7 separate regions of the Homo sapiens genome follow, and all the other regions are linked to region 3. Evidence: promoter capture Hi-C in 16 types of primary human blood cells and fetal thymus (Javierre and others, 2016). All regions are on one chromosome and are shown on one strand. The core of a region is centred on a gene start or on the middle of the fragment in contact, and the rest is flanking DNA. Distances in the headings are between cores, read along the strand shown.

What was found. The method cuts DNA at HindIII sites, captures the fragments that hold promoters and counts their contacts. A CHiCAGO score of 5 or more calls a contact.
Region 1: a contact is called between a fragment that was not itself captured here and the fragment with the promoter of G6PC2 in region 3, in 1 of 17 cell types (total CD4 T cells). The highest score is 5.3, in total CD4 T cells.
Region 2: a contact is called between a fragment that was not itself captured here and the fragment with the promoter of G6PC2 in region 3, in 7 of 17 cell types (monocytes, activated CD4 T cells, fetal thymus and 4 more). The highest score is 9.1, in monocytes.
Region 4: a fragment that was not itself captured here is called in contact with the fragment with the promoter of G6PC2 in region 3 in 1 of 17 cell types (fetal thymus); the score reaches 5.5 in fetal thymus.
Region 5: a fragment that was not itself captured here is called in contact with the fragment with the promoter of G6PC2 in region 3 in 9 of 17 cell types (total CD4 T cells, naive CD8 T cells, fetal thymus and 6 more); the score reaches 9.9 in total CD4 T cells.
Region 6: a fragment that was not itself captured here is called in contact with the fragment with the promoter of G6PC2 in region 3 in 1 of 17 cell types (monocytes); the score reaches 6.2 in monocytes.
Region 7: a contact is called between a fragment that was not itself captured here and the fragment with the promoter of G6PC2 in region 3, in 1 of 17 cell types (monocytes). The highest score is 5.1, in monocytes.

What each region holds. Positions count from the first base shown.
Region 1 is chr2:168,100,667-168,103,366 of GRCh38, reverse strand. The region is part of intron 10 of STK39 (serine/threonine kinase 39); the gene reads left to right. Among named protein-coding and RNA genes, the nearest start is that of STK39, 150 kb to the left of the region's middle. The HindIII fragment of the contact is 5,155 bases long and covers 1-2,700 here.
Region 2 is chr2:168,156,272-168,158,971 of GRCh38, reverse strand. The region is part of intron 5 of STK39 (serine/threonine kinase 39); the gene reads left to right. Among named protein-coding and RNA genes, the nearest start is that of STK39, 90 kb to the left of the region's middle. The HindIII fragment of the contact is 572 bases long and covers 1,122-1,693 here.
Region 3 is chr2:168,899,893-168,902,592 of GRCh38, reverse strand. It overlaps G6PC2 (glucose-6-phosphatase catalytic subunit 2), which reads right to left and starts at 1,302. Exons shown (of 5, transcript NM_021176.3): 1 at 1,044-1,302; 2 at 39-148. The coding sequence starts at 1,261. The HindIII fragment of the contact is 12,445 bases long and covers 1-2,700 here.
Region 4 is chr2:168,184,312-168,187,027 of GRCh38, reverse strand. All of the region lies in intron 1 of STK39 (serine/threonine kinase 39), which reads left to right. Among named protein-coding and RNA genes, the nearest start is that of STK39, 62 kb to the left of the region's middle. The HindIII fragment of the contact is 1,646 bases long and covers 577-2,222 here.
Region 5 is chr2:168,137,703-168,140,402 of GRCh38, reverse strand. STK39 (serine/threonine kinase 39) reads left to right here. Exons shown (of 18, transcript NM_013233.3): 7 at 13-114; 8 at 2,182-2,315. Among named protein-coding and RNA genes, the nearest start is that of STK39, 110 kb to the left of the region's middle. The HindIII fragment of the contact is 2,059 bases long and covers 311-2,369 here.
Region 6 is chr2:168,279,299-168,281,998 of GRCh38, reverse strand. No RefSeq gene overlaps it. Among named protein-coding and RNA genes, the nearest start is that of STK39, 33 kb to the right of the region's middle. The HindIII fragment of the contact is 2,334 bases long and covers 187-2,520 here.
Region 7 is chr2:168,242,050-168,244,782 of GRCh38, reverse strand. All of the region lies in intron 1 of STK39 (serine/threonine kinase 39), which reads left to right. Among named protein-coding and RNA genes, the nearest start is that of STK39, 4.2 kb to the left of the region's middle. The HindIII fragment of the contact is 5,114 bases long and covers 1-2,733 here.

The DNA.
Region 1 (2,700 bases), core at 19-2,518, 800 kb after region 3:
TGTTTATTTCTTTACTACTCTATTTCAGAAAAGATTCGAGATGGCTTACAAAGATGCAAACAGTGTAGCTGGGTAAAATTTATTTGATAAATGCAAAAAGGAAGGTAAAGGAACATAAGGATAAGAAAGTAAATAGAAAGCCAGGAGTGAGATTAGTTTACGAAATACACATGAAACATGAAATTGTCATCATCAGCAGTCCAGAATGCTTGAATATGGGTGATTTTTTCTGGTGCAGCCAAAATATTAAGTTCAGTATACTTGCTCAAGGTAGACCTCAGATGTGACCCTGAGCCAGTGTGACAGGGATGTAGCCTCATCATCCCTGTGATTGGAACACAAACCTACACAGAAGGAGTCCAAATAGTCCTCATATTGAATCCAAAGAGAAAATTCACCCAGAGAAGAGATTTTTTTTTTTTTTTTTTTTTTTTTTTGAGACGGATTCTCGCTCTGTCGCCCAGGCTGGAGTGCAGTGGTGCAATCTCGGCTCACTACAAGCTCCGCCTCCCAGGTTCATGCCATTCTCCTGCCTCAGCCTCCCGAGTAGCTGGGACTACAGGTGCCCACCACCACACAGACTAATTTTTTTTGTATTTTTAGTAGAGACGGGGTTTCACCGTGTTAGCCAGGAAGGTCTCAATCTCCTTACCTCATAATCTGCCCGCCTTGGCCTCCCAAAGTGCTGGGATTACAGGCGTGAGCCACCGCACCTGGCTGAGAAGAGATTTTTAAACAGTATAAATTCATGGTCCCAGAATGTCATAGCTGGAAGAATCTTGAAGGGCTGGCTTGTACAGCCTTCTCAGAATTTGTGAGACCTTGTAGTTGTGCATTGAAATGGGCTCTGGAGAGTGCAGAATCTGCATATGACTTTTATCTTTAATCAGTCACTGAACCTTTCCAATCCAGTTTCCTTGTATACCCAACAGGAATACGGATTGGTTTTTACCTCATAAGATCATGCAAGGGAGGGAAATGCAAATGAAAATCACAACAGGATACTACCTCATACCCGCTAGGATGGCACTAATAAAAAAGATGGACAAAAGCAAGTGTTGCTGAGGATGTGGAAGAACTGGAACCCTCCCATGCTGGTGGGAGTATAAAATGGTGCAGCCACTTTGGAAGACAGTCTGGCATTTCCTCAGAAGGTTAGCATATGGCCCAGAAATTCTACTTCTAGGTACAAATGGAAGAGAAATGAGAAGGTTATGTCCATTAAAAAAAAAAAAGTGTACATGAATGTTCAAGGCAGTATTATCCATAGTAGCCCAAAGTGGACACAACCCAACTGTCATCAACTAATGAATGGAAAGAAAGACCCATATTGGATGATTCCGTTTATGTGAAATACCCAAAACAGGCAAATCCATAGAGATAGAAGTAGATTAATGGTTGCCTAGGGCTGGTGGGTAGGGGGAAATTGGGGCATAACTGCTAATGGGGATAGGAGTTTCTTTTTGGGGTGACAGCAATGTTCTAAAATTGATTGTGGTGATGGTTGCACAATTCTGTGAATATACTAACAATTGACATTCCCATTTTACATAGTTGAGTTTTACGGTGGATTATCTCTCAATAAAAATGTATATATTTTATTTTAATTTTTTTGTTTTTATTTTTTTTGAGACAGAGTCTTGCTCGGTTGCCCAGGCTGGAGTGCAGTGGCATGATCTCGGCCCCCTGCAGCCTCTGCCTCCCAGGTTCAAGCAATTAATGTGTCCCAGCCTCCAGAGTAGCTGGGACTATAGGTGCACGCCACCATGCCTGGCTAATTTTTGTATGTTTAGTAGAGATGGGGTTTCACCATGTTGGCCAGTCTGGTCTTGAACTCTTGGCCTCAAGTGATCCACCTGCCTCATCCTCCCAAAGTGCTGGGATTACAGGTGTGAGCCACAGCGCCTGGCCAATGTATATATTTTTTAAAAACATAGCACAGTTCTTAGTGTAGTGCAGTAAGTAGTATACCAAGTAAGCTCTCAAATGTAGGCTTTTTCTTTTTCTTTTTATTATACTTTAAGTTCTGGGATACATGTACAGAACGTGCAGATTTGTTACATAGGTATACATGTGCCATGGTGGTTTGCTGCACCCATCAACCCATCATCTACATTAGGTATTTCTCCTAATGCTATCCCTCCCCTTGCCCCTAACCCCCGACAAGCCCTGGTGTGTGATGTTCCCCTCCCTGTGTCCAAGTGTTCTCATTGTTCAACTCCCACTTATGAGTGAGAACCTGCAGTGTTTGGTTTTCTGTTCCTGTGTTAGTTTGCTGAGAATGATGGTTTCCAGCTTCATCTGTGTCGCTGCAAAGGACATGAACTCATTCCTTTTTATGGCTGCATAGTATTCCATGGTGTATATGTGCCACATTTTCTTTAACCAGTCTGTCATTGATGGGCATTTGGGTTGGTTCCAAGTCTTTGCTATTGTGAATAGTGCCACAATAAACATACATGTGCATGTGTCTTTATAGTAGTATGATTTATAATCCTTTGGGTATATACCCAGTAATGGGATTGCTGGGTCAAATTGTGTTTCTGGTTCTAGATCCTTGAGGAATCACCACACTGTCTTCCACAATGCTTGAACTAATTTACACTCCCACCAACAGTGTAAAAGAGTTCCTACTTCTCCACATCCTCTCCAGCATTAAGTTTTTTGTAGATTCTGGATATTAGCCCTTTGTCAGATGGA
Region 2 (2,700 bases), core at 158-2,657, 740 kb after region 3:
AGAAACCCTCACTTTATTATGCAGCTAGAAGTGTGGTGGATAGGATAATGAGCCTGGTTCTGTTGAACACAGTCCAAATTCTCTGGGAAGAATGTACATTTCTATTGAACGTGGGTATAAAATCAGGAACTAATGTGTCTTGAGTGCTTCCTGTGTGTCAGGCTAGGTTTTGGATTCTGAATGCTTTGAGTCTCATTCAGTCCTCAGCACAACTCCATGAGGAAGGTACTATTGCATCCATTTTACATAGGAGAAACTAAATTACAGTGGGGAAGTCAGTTGCCCAGGTCACACGTAGAATAAGCGGTGTAGCCATGCTTTGGGTTTGGACAGTCTGACTCTAGAAACTGTCAACTCACATCTATGGGATTTCCAGGAGGAGGACCTTAAATCTGGATTTAAATGACCTCACTTTCAGATGGAATATACCCCAGCGATCACTAGCTCTTCTGTGTCTCTGCATAAATCGATTCCCCTTTGGGCCAGGGAACATATTCAGCACCTTCTTCCTCCTTGCTCCTTCAGGCTGAAACACAAGGGTGTCCCTGGTAAGGTTTCAGGGCATAGGAGAAGCAGCCATCTAAGCGTCATTTGGTATAGAATTAAGCTCAATAATGACACCACACTCTTTTCAGACTGGAAAACTTCAGGTTTGATGTAGTGAATTAGAACCTGAGGACAGCCTACTCAGGGTTTAAGAGAAAATGCTTTCCTTCTTACTGTACCTTCTATGCTTAGAGGTCCAGTGTGTGTAACTTCCTGATAATCAACTTGGATGCCTTGGAAAATGTAATAGGTTTTGCTGCACTGTGTGATAGAAGGGGGAGTGGCTACTCGAAAGTCATGTTCTTCCCACGGCATAGCATTTTATCTTCCAATTTGATGCCCTGTCATATTGTCAGGAAGAGCTTAGTGCTTTGGCAAATGACTAAGCCTGTTTGTCCAGAATTAATGAGAGACACTATTTTGAGCAAACAGAAATTCATATGAAACAGATCACTTTGAGGTGGTTTCTGCTAATCTTTTTAATCTAAGATTTAAAAAAAATAGTGGCTACTCTTGATGTTCTATAAAAATGTTGATTTCAACACCTTTGATTTATAAAGAACTTTGTAGAAGCTTACTACTACATTATGTAAGGTAGATCTCATGCTCATTTTCACTTACGTTTGCCTTTTAGGTGTGTGTGTGCTGTGGTTTGAATTTTGTGTGCCCTCCAAATTCATATGTTGAACCCTAATTACCAATGTGATGGTGTTAGGAGGTGGGGCCTTTGGGAGGTAATAAGATCATGAGGCCTAAACCCTCATGAGTAGGGCCAGTGCCTTTATAAAGAGGCCCCAGAGAGCTGCCGTGCCCTTCTACCATGTGAGGACACGAACAGAAGGCACCATCTATAAACAAGAAGGCGGGTCCTTACTAGATAGTGAATCTGCCGATGCCATAATCTTGGACTTCCCAGCCTGCAGAACTGTGATAAATAAGATTTTGTTGTTTTTAAGTCACCCAGTCTAAGGTATTTTGTTATAGTAGGCCCAATACACAAAGACAGTGCTTATGTGTGTGAATGTGAATTTCCCTTCCCTGGTTTTACATAACAGAAATAAAAACTGGTACTGAGCGAAAGCAGCCTGGAACTCTAGAAAGTTACCATCAAAATGCCTCACGTATGTGCATCCATTCAAATCAAGCTTATGCCCTGGGTTTTTCACTGTCCAAGGTACATTGGTAGAACTTTGGGTAGCATCTCTTATTTACTGGGAGGGAGATAATATCCTTATCAGCCTTGAATACATCTTCATTTTAAATCTGCATCTTGAACACTGAAAACCCCATGACTAAAAGTGCTAGGAAAACATGCAATGAAACTTAACTTGCTTCTGTCACTTAGGCGTTATCCATTAAGGAGCTAGAGGAAGATGGGCAAGGTGGTTGAGTTTTTACACCCATAGCTGCTAGGTTCTTTCATTTTCCTTCTGTGGCCTTTGGCCCTCATAAAGTGCACTTTGATGGGGAGGGTAGGGGTTTAAGAGTTATTTTTTGTGTTGTAGGGAAGAGAGGCTGCTGCTTTGAGCAAGGCACCCGAGCAGCGCTGGAGTCAGCTTCTGATTAGTGTGGGAAAGCGCTGAAAGCCCCGGAGGCATCCAATCAGGAAATGATGTCATCACATTTATGAGCACCTTGGCCCAGAGCATGGGCTCTGACACCAGACAGCCATAGTTCAGTCCTGGCATTGCTCCTTCTAGCTGTGTAACCAAGTTATAGCTTTAGCTTCTCTGTGCCTCATTTTGCACGTTTGTGTAATGAGAATATACTGCGGCATTAAAGGAGTTAAAACACATTTTATTTTAGAATTTGCTAACTCATTGCTTTCGTATTGAAATTGGGATGGTGTCCTCTAATTACTTAGGGTGTGGTAAGCTCACGGTGGCTAGGGAGGTGCGAGGCCTTAGGCACTCCATCTGACCTCCTGCCGTGTTATTTTGCTCTTTTCTTTTTCCCATCAGTTTCCTCAATATCACCAGAGTGAAGAATCTGCAGTGTAGATCTGACTGTATCTTCCTCTTGCATAAAGTTTATAAGCATTGTTGATGGAATAAAGCATTGTTGATGGAATAAAGCTCCAGCTTCCTACTAATGGCAGATGAGGGACCTGCCTGTTTTTCTGGTCATGTCTGCAAGTGCTTTCTGCTGTGACTT
Region 3 (2,700 bases), core at 53-2,552:
AAGATCTTCAGTAACTGGAGCCTGCTGTAATAGCTTACCTGGACCTGTTTCACATGTAGTAGGGAACTGTTCAAGGCATGGACTTGAGTGATTTGGGTAAATCTGAGTTTCTTGGACCCACCAGTAAGGTCGATGACCAAATAATATCCTGTATTTAAAGAATTATAAACATGCATATATATTTAAATACACAGCTATTATTTAATTGGAGATTAGCAATTCTTTCCTATAAAAAATGACTCAAGCGCAGGGTTAATTGTGAAAGTTCATGATTAAGAGACTTTGAAAAAACTTAGGTCTTGGTCTCTCACACATTATTAAAGGTGGTAGCCATTTGGTATTTTGGCACCCTGGTTTCCCATGAACATGGGGGCTTTTTTCCCTTGCAGGGAATGTCTTATGGGTGCTTTGGATACTTAGACTGGAAATATCAAAATTTGTCCCTAGAATTATCAATTTGTTCATTATCACGCTGCTCATGTAAGTAATTCTTAATCACAGAATATGTGTTACAGGGGTTTGGGAATTACTTATAAGTCATTAAAGTACACATTTCTGGCCTGGCGTGGTGGCTCACACCTGTAATCCCAGCACTTTAGGAAGCCGAAGTCGGTGGATCACCTGAGGTCGGGAGTTAGAGACCAGCCTGACCAACATAGAGAAACCCTGTCTCTACTAAAAATACAAAATTAGCTGGGTGTGGTGGCACATGCCTGTAATCCCAGCTACTCGGGAGGCTGAGGTGAGAGAATTGCTTGAACCTGGGAGGCAGAGGTTGCAGTGAGCCGAGATCACGCCATTGCACTCCATCCTGGGCAACAAGGGCAAAACTCTGTCTCAAAAAAAAAAAAAAAACAAAAACATATATATACATTTCTGTGCCTTTTAAAAGTTCTACTTATGAATCTGGTGTTTCAAGTTACCTGGTATTTTTGAAAGATTTTCCAAGTAAAACGATATACATCTGAAATGTGATCATTATGCCGAAGTCACAAATTTAAGGATAAATCTTAGGAAAAAATGAAATAAAACAGAAATCTTACCATTTAAATATAAGATTTAACCAATCCCCAATGACTGCTACCCATATCATCTTGGTTCCAACTGTCTGATTAAATTGAAAACAAAGTGGAAAATAAATGAAAAAGATATTCCTGGGGTCTCCAACATTGGACATAAAATTTAGAAAAGTGTAGTAAGCTCGGTAGTCCTTCTGCAAATGCTGAATTATGAGCACTCCATTCCTGTGAAGGAAATCCATCTTGAAAAAGAGGCAATTCTAAACATAGAGCAATTGGAGCTGAAGTGCTCTGATTCCCACCGTTTTTATACTGTGCCTTTGTGGCATGTCGAGCCATTACTGCAACATGTGATGCTGACCATCTGTGGAGAGGGCACACCAGCCCTCCTCTGCTGAATAGCTCATCTATTTATGATTTTAATTGGTGGCAAAGAGTGAAGTACATGCTGATCTGTGGCAATTCGAGGGGGAAATTTGGATAGAAACACAATGAATTTCTTATGCAACCTCCCTTTTGTGCGAACAGTTGGATCATGTTTGCTTGAAATTTTTTGTACAGTTCATTTCCTCCAAGGTCAGACATTAGCAATTTCTATGTTTGGTGAAAAGACTTTGCAAATAATTATTGCATGTCAAATAGCCCATAAAGCCCTGCATTTTAATTTAAGATAGGCTGTGGCTCTCTATTTTATTGGGTCTTTGAGGAAAATGGTTGAATAAATATCTGGGTATGAAAAATATATGATATGACAGATTATGTTCTGATCACTGATTTAAAATAAGAATAGTTCAATTTTCTTTATCCAAGAGAATGATAGAATATATATGGAACAGGGAAAGAAATGTGTTGTTTTTTGACTATAAGACAAGAAAGCAGAAATGAAAGTCATTTGGATAATAGAAATGTGTTAGGATCAAATTGTATCTTTTATTAACTAGAGAATACAGTTGAGAGGAATAGGGAATGATTCATGTGACAAAGATAGGAATAGACATCAAAGGGCTTTTGACCAATCAGGAAAATGGTTTGTTGAGAACAGAGTGTTAAACAGAAGTGGAAAGCACCAAACAAATGCTAAGAATGAACAGAAGGGTAGCGCAAAGAGGCTGTGGATCTAAGTCATAGGTCCATAATCTACGGCTGTGGACTATGACTAGACTATAGACCAGGACTCTGGTCCTGGACTATAGACTACGACTGGACCCTGGACTATGGACCAGGGTAGACTGAGAATGAACAGAAGGGTAGCACAAAGAGGCTATGGATCTAAGTCAGAGAGATGTTGGGTTTAGAGAGCTGGATTGTGTCTAGGATTAGTGGGAAAGCAACAAAGCCTCACAAGGTGGCCAGGGATGGATCTAGGTAACCTTACTTGTTATTTTGTCATTCAGATTTTTGTCTTTGCTTACCATGGCCTAAGTAAAGACAAAAGACTTCACTAGAGTCCTTCACAGGCTATAACTATCACTTTGAACTTCTCTTCGAGTTTTGTGTCCCATCATTTAACAGCACCATTGTTACTGGGCTTCAGTGTCTATTGGTACCTTACCTGGAAGAAATGCATTGACTGACCATTAACATCTTTTGGGGTGCTTTTTAAATTGCCATAACTGTGTTCCACCTGAGATCAGTTATATTTCTGGTAATGGAATTTGGGCATTGGTATTATTAAAATACT
Region 4 (2,716 bases), core at 150-2,649, 720 kb after region 3:
TGACAATCTTTGCTATGGAATATTAATTCACAGCTGTTTCTGAATTGGATTGTCTCTTATATTTTAAACTCTTATGCTCATCATGCTGTATCAGACTTTAGAAATCATTTAGTTCTTTGGTTTCCAAATTTAGCTCTCCTAGCCTCTCTTTTAAACCAGTCTAATCTTCCTGGTGCTAAGCAAAATGAAACTCAGTTCTGACCCTGAGCCACTTTGCCCTCTTTTCCCTTGGGTGCCATATAAACAGTAGATATAGTTTACCTCCTTTATGTCACAGATGGAGAAATGAGTCCCAGAGAGAGAGCCTAACATTTATTGAGTTGATGTTTTCCAGGGATGTGAAATATATTATGTTATGAAGCCTTAAAGGTGTATTTTATTATGCCCATTAAGGAAGCTGAAGTCTAGATAGCAGTTAGGTCGAAAGTCACAGAGGGAATCAATACCACGTTTGGATAGAATCCCTGTCTAACCTTCTTTTCAAGGCTCCTACTAACCTAAGATGGGAACTACAATGAGCTACCAGAGGCCTTTCAGTTGAATCTTGCCATTTGCTGTTGACTTAATCAGGAAGCTTCTAAGAACTTCTAATTAGTATGGCATTCTCTGCCATAGGTGTTAGTGGAAGAATGACTTTGAACAGACATTTCAAGGCTTTTGTATTAGTCTGCTTGGGCTGTTGTAACAAAATACCATATACTGAGTGGCTTAAACAACAGAAATGTATTTCTCACAGTTCTGGAGTCTAGGAAGTCCAGATCAATGTGCTGACCACTTCAGTTTCTGGTGGGCTCTCTTGCTGGCTTGTAAACAGGCACCTTCTTGCTGTGTCCTCATAGGACAGAGAGGGAAAGTAAGCTCTCTATTGTCTCTTTTTGTAAGGATACTAATCCTATTGGACCAGGGCTCTGTCCTGATGACCTCATTTAACCTTTAATTACCTCCATAAAGGTGGTAATTATCTGTTAACTGTATCTCTAAATATAGTCACATTGGGGATTAGGGCTTCAACAAAGACATTTTAGGGGAACACAGACATTCAGTCCACAACAGCATTTTAGTCATCCCTGTTAACTTCTGCAGAGGAAGTGATCCTATAGAAGGATTTATTCCACTTGAAGCAGGAATGGTCACCTTTGGCACTTTATTATCTAGTGAACTGCCTGCTACATGGCAGGGATTTAATTACTGTTTGTTGATGAATTAATATAAGCAAATATCTTTTTGCTGCTTTTTTGCACTAAATGCACTAAATGCAAAGAGGAAGTTATTGTGTGAGTCATGGGAGTAGGGACTTTGAACATACTGTTGAAACTGCATTTGACAATAGTAGTGATTTTTGCAAAATAAACACTGTAGTTTTTCATGTTAATTTCACATAGACCTTAGTGAAATGCAAAGTTAGAATACTAAATTATATTTCCATGAAATATTTCTTTGGATAACTGAAAGTATAAAATGCAGGTATGCAGTGTTCTGGTTATTTACCTTAATACCAGCAGCAGTACAGAGGGGAAAATGAGAAGAGGTGTCAACTAAAGGAAAAATCTGCATCATGGTAATGAACGTGAGCAATCTCTTACCTCTGATTGCCATTGACATAATCACTATCTAAAACTTCCAAGTAGCTGTTCTTAGTCGGGAATTACTTAGCAAAAGTGAATTGAGATAGAGTGACTTAAAAGAGTGAACTGAAAAGATTTAAAGCCGTGCCCACTTAACTTGTGCATATGTGCATACAGGCCATAATCCTATTGAATGATTTATTGCACTTGAAATAGGAGTCAGGAATAAAATGAGAAATTCATAAAATGTTAAGAACTCTTATTCCAAAAGGGGTGCATGATACTTCATTGAAAATATGCTACTAATGTTAATGAGTCATGTGTCAGTATCATATATTGTTCAAAATAAATACAAGGTGCTGTTCAGCATAGTAATTGCTCTTATTTTATTTCATGTTGCTAACACTTGTCCAGTTCCTGTATTTACAAGCCCCACATTTTTTAGCTTCCTCTTAAACTAATCAGCAAAGTGCATAAAAACCCTTAAAGCAAGACAGTGTTGGTATTATTTCTAAATGTCCTTTAGAATTATGCAGTTAGGTCACCTCCTTTCCTTTCAAAGCATGGATTTACTCTAATCCTGGGAATCCTAATCTAGTACTAGCAGACTCCAAACTTTTGATCATCACTTACAGTAAAACATGTCATACTAAAGCTTGGGCGTAAGTGAAACAAAAGTTTCATAAAGCAGTTTTTACCCTTATTACATTCTGATGCTTCCCTTAAACAATGCTGGCCTCCACCCAGTTAGTTGATTTTGTGACCAGTGGATCCTCACTGGCAATTTGAAAAAACACCAACCTGGTGCACAGAATGGTAGATAAGGAATAAGTATGCCTAGGGTCCTAATCCTGTGCTTTCCAATTGCTGCAGGAAACACATCCCTATCCTTCACAGGACCCTGTTTTCTCATTCATAAAGTGAGGGGGTGGGTTGGACTTGATGCTCTCTAAGGTGCCTTTCCACCTTTAACTTTGTTCTTGGTCTCTTCTATAGTTGAAGGGAAATCTTTGGATTTAGAGTAGAATCTCCCAAACTGTTTAATGAATGGTTAAATCCATCCATGTTGTGACAATGATCTCAGGTCACAAAGCTTCATAATTCTGTCTAGAGATGAGAAGTAGCCAGTCGTTCCTTAGTTAGCTGTAGTT
Region 5 (2,700 bases), core at 91-2,590, 760 kb after region 3:
TTTCTTTCTTAGGTGAGAGGCTATGACTTCAAGGCTGACATGTGGAGTTTTGGAATAACTGCCATTGAATTAGCAACAGGAGCAGCGCCTTATCACAAATATCCTCCCATGAAAGTAATTACAATTGGAAATACTACATCGGGGTTGAAATGTGATTGGACGGAATCTGTTTTCTAATTCTCTTCAACATCTTCATTCTTCTCTTAGACCCGAGGAGAATTAATGGAGGAACGCAGCCAAGTTGAACATTGTCTGATTTTCTCAGTGGACAGAATAGGACAAAAGTAGCATAATTCCCAGCTTTGAAGCTTGCTTTATAGTCTCAGCACAGAGTTAAGAAAATAATGTTATCAGATTGGTTGATGGAGGTTGATAGCTATGACAAATGCTGGTCATTACTCTTTTGATAGCAGAACAACGCCAGGTTCCCAGAGAATATCTCAAAATAGATTATAGTGATGTCATCTCTGCAAATGGGTTTCCCAGATTTTCAGAGCTTTTTTTTTTCTTTCTTTTTAAGTGGACTACAACATTTTTACCCCTGCTCTTATAGTGTAATGTTGGCAACTGATCTGATATAAGTGAGCCACAGTGTTTTTAGGATGCTATTTTCACGTTTCTGCTCTTCTTTTAACTGGTTTATACCTCATTATTTCTCTTAGTTCTGAGATAGTGGTATCAGGGCTTATTTACCCAACTGGATTTTGTTTTGAGGCTGAAATAGTTTAGTGAAATTATAATGCTATTTTACATAGAGTATGGTCTATGATTGTTTCATGGTTACTGGAAAAATTTGGGAGGATTTATTTTAAAAACCCAAGAATAAAAAGTGAGTTTTACTGATTAAAAGAAGTAGTATACTCATATTGTAGAAAGTTTGGATGTGCAACTCAGACTAAAGAAGAAAAACAATCATCCGTAATCTCATCAACCAGACAATCTCTACTAAGGTTTCAGTGTAATTCATTTTATTGTTTTTATATATATATATATAAATTTTTTTTAACATAGTTAGGATTTTAGTGTATTTGTGTGTGTGTGGGTACATATACCGGATTTTGCTAGCAGAAAATTTAAAATTGAAGCGTAAACAATTGAAGTGACCTCTTGGAGAAAAAGCACTGAAGTAATGCTGAAGGATTTTTTCTTTTATTCAGTTTTTCTTTCTTCATTTTCTTTCTTTTGCCTCTTCTCAGTGTTTCCCACCTGAATTCAAAGTCGCACTTGCTTGTCCCAGCCTGACGTCCTCTAGGACTTTTCTTCAGAGTTCCCAGTCTCCCGCTTTCTCCTGTGGGCTATTATCCTCCACAAACAATAAGCCGTCACTTTCACGCTTCATCTATTCACACATCTGAAAGTGTTTGAAAAGAGGCTTGACATGTATAGCATTTGCATAAATTAAGGCTGAATTATGCATTAATGAGTTTTATTGATTGTACAGGCTAGTAGTTTTCTACACTTTCCACTTTTTTTTTAAAGCAAATACTTTTGAAGTTAGTATGAAAGAGTGGAATTTTTACCGTTTTGATTTAAAGTTGTATTTTATTTTGTTTTGTCCCCCTCCGAAAGCAGCAAGGACTTTGGATTTGATGACAGTTTTTAGCAACTCAGTTATATTCTGGCTATCCTTCAGTGTCCTGCTCTCTCAGCTTTGCCAAGCCTTTTAGCAATTTTCTGTATGTTTTCTCATTTTTTTAAAGGAAATCATGTTACCTCCTGGGATGTTGTGGTTTTATTTTTAGGGCTAGTAATGTGTTACAGAAGCCTTGAGTACAGGCAGTTCCTTACTTATGAATGACCTGTATACATGAACAGTCACTGCCTCGCTGGCCCTCTCTCTTCTCCTCCACCCGCTTTCCCAACTAGCCTGTGCTGGAGCTACGTGCTCCTCAAGGCAGTACACGAGCCAGTTCCCAGAAAGCTCTGTCCGGGATCATTCTTAACACATAGAGCAAGTTTTGTAAGTTCTGTCAATGGAATAACAAAAAGGTTAAAGGGGGCATGAACACATTTGCAGTGGTAATGAATACTTTAAATACACAATTTCTGCAAAGTTAAAATCATGGGAAAGCACTTTGTATCTAATCAAGGATGGTTTTTTACACTTTTATGAAAAATTCAAAACTAGATTGTAGCAATTGCTATACTGAGATTCTGTCTTCATGTTTGTTTCTGCTGCAGGTGTTAATGTTGACTTTGCAAAATGATCCACCCACTTTGGAAACAGGGGTAGAGGATAAAGAAATGATGAAAAAGTACGGCAAGTCCTTTAGAAAATTACTTTCACTGTGTCTTCAGAAAGATCCTTCCAAAAGGTAAGTGAAACTTAGTGGATGAGTTAATGACCTGGTTTGAGCCATGACAAAGCTTTGTTTGTAGATGGGGAAAGGCTTTGTGAGGACACTGGAAAGGTATTTCTTGTCTGGGAAACCCTGCTGTGGTCCCCAGATTTCCAACCTGTTAGTGAAAGACGGTGTGGGTCCAAGAGGGAAAGAAGTGGGTGAAGAACGAAGGAGAGGCAGAGGAAAAATTGTGGTGTTAACAAGATTCACTGTGCTTGTTAAGTGTGGGCTCTGTCATCAAAGGAAATGAAGTAAAACAGAAATCAAAAGAAATTGGCAGTGCTGCATTCAGAAGCTGAGCTAATATTCTTCACTGTGTAGGTTGAACTGACCTCTCAGGATTTGAATATCCTGCTAG
Region 6 (2,700 bases), core at 104-2,603, 620 kb after region 3:
TCCACATAGACGAGGCAGAATTGGTTCCAACACCTGACTGATACGAATTATTTATGGAGCTCATATAAGTTTGGTAAACATGTGTAAGAGCCAATCAAAATGTTCCATGCTTAATAGGAAATACGTAGTAGATAGAATGGTAAATTAATTAACACAAATTCAGGGAGTTCATTTACAGCTTAAGCTTGGTAAACATGTAGTATTGCCTTTTAAACGTAAGTCTCTGAAGGACATGTAAAGGTTACTTACTGTGGCTGGCATTATCTGGAAGACCAAAGTAGAACTACCAAAGCAAAGCTAAAGCTAACTGAACTATAGCTGTGGATACCAGAACACTTTTGGCTTGGAGGTAGTAGCTGGGAAAAATAGATCTTCTGCACAGGTGGGGGAAATGCACATCCCAATCTACCCACCTGCAAGAAATGAAGCACTCTCCTTTCAGTTCAGTAGTTCATTTCTTGCAGGTGGGTAGATTGGGCGGTGCCCAGAATACTCTGTGAAGTAATCTTATTCTTGTGAAAGGGTGGAGAACTTGTAGTACCCTTAGGACATGAGGATAGTAATATTTAGCATCCAGCTGTTGTGAAGATTACTTCTAGCTGTTGTGAAGATTACTTAAATGGCATGTGTGGATCCTTTAGCACAAATCTTGTCTTATAATAAATGCACAATAAACACTAGCTATTGTGATTAGCGGTATAACTAGAATCTCTTTAGGATGATGGGAGAAAATCATCAGATATAGAAACATATATAACATTTTGAACAGCTGCAGCCAATCTGAATCATCACAGTAAGTTGTTCCTGAAGAAATAAGAAGTTTGGAAACTTCTAATGTATGCTTTCAACAAGACTGATAAAGACAATACATTGATAAAACTATGACACATAACCATGAAAAGGAAAATAATTGAGAGTAGGAAAGAGCTCTTGGAAATGCAAATCACAGCTCCTAAATTATAAACAATAAGAAGAAATAAAAGCAAATGAAATATGATAAAACTTTGATTCAGGGAATTAGGAAACATGTTCAAGAAATTTTCCCAGAACTTAAAAAGACAAATTCAAAATGATGAAAAAAAAAAAAAGGTTAGATGCCAGAGCACTAGCCCCTGCCTGTAGTCCTAGCTACTCAGGAGGATAAGGTGAGAGGATCACTTAAAGCCAGGAGTTGGAGGTGATAGTGTGCTATGATCACACCTGTGAATAGCCATTGCACTCCAGCCTGGGCAACATAGCAAGCCCCTGTCTCAAAAAGCAAAAAAAGAAAGGTAAATATGTTGTCATAAGTTTAAAGATCATTTGTATTTCTTTCTGTTCATATCCTATGCCTGTTTATTAATTGGGCTGTGAGTGTTTTGCTACCTAATTGCTGGCAACCCTATATTGGAGAGGGAATCATATTTTGTAGCGTTAGCTGCAAAAAATTTTCTAATTTATCACATATACTTCTTAAAATTATTCTAGGCAATCAAAGATTGGTCCATAATAAAAAAATTGAAATATGGACAGTGTAGTTTAACCATTAACAAAATAAAAATGTCAAATCACCAAAAGGGGAAAAAAGCAAGGATCCTAACACAACATAGTAAATAATTTTTAAAAAAACAGCAAGAAAGCATAAAATATATAAAAAAAGAAGGGAAACCATGTATATCCATTCCTTAATAAATACAAGTAACTTGAAGTTAAATAATAAAGATCTTCATATTGAGTCAAAAAATCATGTCCAAGTATAACTTGTTAATAAAAAGGTAAAAATAAAGTTATGTGTGAGAGTAAAACAAAGGAAAAGTGCCATTATTATTATCAAACTAGAAATTGAGAAAAAGATCATTAAATGGAACAAAGAATCATTTTATATTAAGGGTAGAATACACAACAGAAATACAGTATTAATTTCTATAAGCTAAATGATATAACTTTAAAATATGAAACTGACAAAACCATTAGTGGGAATATTTAAACATACCTCCATCTGTTTTTATATATCGAGTGGACAAAAATTAAATAAGAAAAGAGAGAAACTGAAAAAGCAAGTATAAGTACAAAGACAAATTTTTGAATAAACTCTGCCAGAGTTCAATTTTTCCATATGTATAAGAGTGAATCAAAATGTTCCATGCTTAATAAGAAATACATAGTAGATAGAACGGTAAATTAATTAACACAAATTTAGTGAGTTCATTTACAACTTAAGTGAGCAGATTAAATTTCTTAAAACAAATATTTTAGTAATGTGCTGGTAAATATTTTACAACCAGCTCTCTAGGGTAAGAAAAGAGCTGTGATTTTTAGCATTTGCCTATTTTGGTGGTGTCAATAATATTCCTACTCTGGCTTATTTCAAGCAAATAACATGAAGTCACTGAAAGCAGAGTTGGGAAGATATATTCCTCACTGGCTTTTGCAGGCTGGTGTGAGTAGGCTTTAGCACACAACTGATACATTTAATGACAAGTGAGCAAGCACATTTTCCTATAATGAACAAGTCTAACAAGCCTTCTAGTCACTCAAGCTTCATGGATAAATGGTCCAGTCTGGGGAGACACAGCAAAAACTTTATAATAAATAGTTAAGTATTACAAAAATCCACTTGCCTTTATCATGAAACATAAAAACAGGAACTGATTATAATGCTAACAAAAAACAGAGAATATGTAGATTTAAGACCAAATAATATCACTGCTACCCATAGCT
Region 7 (2,733 bases), core at 190-2,689, 660 kb after region 3:
AGTTTATCTCATATTTTCCCAACTAAAAGAGAAAGAGTTGGCCTGTGTGGAGGCCCTGTTATTGAAAAATCAAATTGCTGGAATAGGTTTTTCGCAAGGGCTTAATGTTTATAAGGAATTACAAACCTGTTTCCATTTAGGGTTTAATGCTAGTTGAGAGATTAAGACTGAACTTGTGGTTAAGCACTTTTGCTTAAACATTACACGCAGAAGTTAGCAGTTCAAACACTGAACCAGTTTCAACATGAATGCCAGTTGACAGCCTTTGCTTCTACCCGCCATACGGCAGGTGTCATATGATATGACTCCAGCAGTGTGAACCGTGACCAGCAGCAGGAGGCTCAGATGTGCCTGAACAGAAAACCAAAGGAGGCACCGTGTTTTAACTTTCCAGCATGGCACGGGCACGGAGGACTTTTTCTTCATTTCCTTCTGGGCAGAGTTTGGTCCCCCAGGATTAAGAGAGAATAAGTTTACTAAAATCCAAACAAAGCAGGTTCAGTTGTTTGACTTCAGTTTTAGAAAAATAAACACAGGATTTTGCAAACCTAAAAATAAAGTTTTCTCTTTATTGTATTGTTGTTCTTGTGTTTTAAAACGTCAGTGGAGAAATTGTAATGCTCTTAGGAGTATTCTGGTTCATAAGTTTATTCATGACCTGGAAATGATGTAAAATCGATGGGAGGGAGCTTTATATTTACAGAGGGGTTAAAAATGTTGGAAATTATTAAATTCCTTCTTCCAGACATTGATATCCTTGTCTTAGTAGATTTCAAATATTTCTGTCTTTTTGGAGGCTTTCCGACCTGTTTATACTCTTCAGCCTTGTTAATCTTTGTTCCTTACCTCTCTAAAGAAGGAATTTGGGGGTGAGTTGAGCCCCCAAAAGTAGGTACCCCTACCTTTAGAAGTATAAGGGGCACTTAAAGCTATGCCAGTTGAAAACTTAGTTTATTTGTTGGGGGTGTTAATAATATTACCTAGATTTGCTAAACAGGGAATGAAAGTGAATCATATAAGTGTTTACTTGGCCATCCGTAATGGAATGGAGCAGCCTCAATGAACTTCTCATTCAAAGAATTGTAGTCATTGAAGTACTAATTTCTGTATTTGAATTAGGTGATTCCAGCAATGTTGTTATCTTTGCTGAATTTCTTCTGAGAAACCCTAGACTCCTGCCTCAGCAGGAGTTTGTTTGATTTTCTTAGGGTTTTTGCAGGATGCACCTTTCTTTATGTAGTTTTATACTAGATTTCTCAGCATTGCTTCACTTTTGTCCCGGGTGGTCATTTAGAATGACCTAAAAGTAACAAATTGCCATCTTAGTCAACACGAAGAATTTGAGTTCTAGAATCCTGGACATGGTTTGACAGAGGGTTCCTTTGAATGCTTTATTTCTCTCCTGTGAGGCATTGTTTATCCATTCAGGTGCGTTTTACTCAGGTCCAGGTAATAGCACATATGGCCAGGTCTTTAAGGAGCAACAGCCTCTTGTAAAATGAGATTGTAAATAGCCCTGGGCATTCCCACTTTGCTCTGTGCTCTCAGAGTTTCTGTGGATTTCTATGGTTTGGGGGTTAGAATTGGTTTTTATAGATATCCTAGAGGCAGTTTGAGGACAGTGGTACCTTCGCTGGCGCTAGGGTAAGGGAGCCGGAGCACTGAGTGTGTTCTGATCTCCCAGACCTTTATACCAGGCTGCCTTGCTGCTGCAGTGGGTTCTTTGATCTTGATTAGTTTGTTTGTTGTTGTTTTTAAAATACTAAATGATGTCTGAAATGCTTTGTCTCAAGACAGGGCTTTGATTTTCATTTCATTTCACTTTCTTTTTTAATAAATAGAAAAATGTATATAGAAATGTTCTTTTGTATTTTGTATTTTTTTTTTTTTGATAAAGGGTCTCACTCTGTCACCCAGGCTAGAGTGCAGTGGTGCAATCATACCTCACTGCAGCCTCGAACTCTTGGGCTCAAGTGATCTTCCCACATCAGCCTCCTGAGTAGCTGGGTCTATAGGTGCAAACCATCATGCCTGCCTAATTTTTTTTTTCTTTTTTTATTTTTAAGAAATGGGGGTCTCACTATGTTGCCCAAGCTGCTCTTGAACTCCTCCGCTCAGCGATGCTCCGGCCTTGGCTTCCCAATGTGTTGGGATTACAGGCGTGAGCCACTGTGCCTGGCCTCTTTATATATATATATATATATATATATATATATATATATTTTTTTTTTTTTTTGTAAGAGTCTTGCTCTGTTGCCTGGGCTAGATTGCAGTGGCGCCATCTCAGTTCACTGCAGCCTCTGCCTCCTAGGTCCAAGCAGTTCTCCTGCCTCAGCCTCCCGAGTAGCTAGTATTACAGGCCTGGCTAATTTTTGTATTTTTTGATAGAAACAGGGTTTCACCATGTTGGCCAGGCTGGTCACAAACTCCTGGTCTGAAGTAACCCGCCTGCCTCAGCCTCCCAAGTTGCTGGGATTACAGCGTGAGTCACTGTGCCCGGCCTCTTTTGTATTATTTTTATTGTGGTAAAATATACACAACAAAAATTGTACCATTTTAACCGTTCTTAAAGTGTGCAATTCAGTAGCATTAATTATATTTACAAGATAAATACTCTTTTAAATGTGCTGTCATGGGGCTGGGGGGAGAGATCTCAAGATCTCTCTTGAAACTGTGGTAAAGTGACTGCAATCCTTTATTTATGCATTTGATTTTTAACTAGTGATATTATGA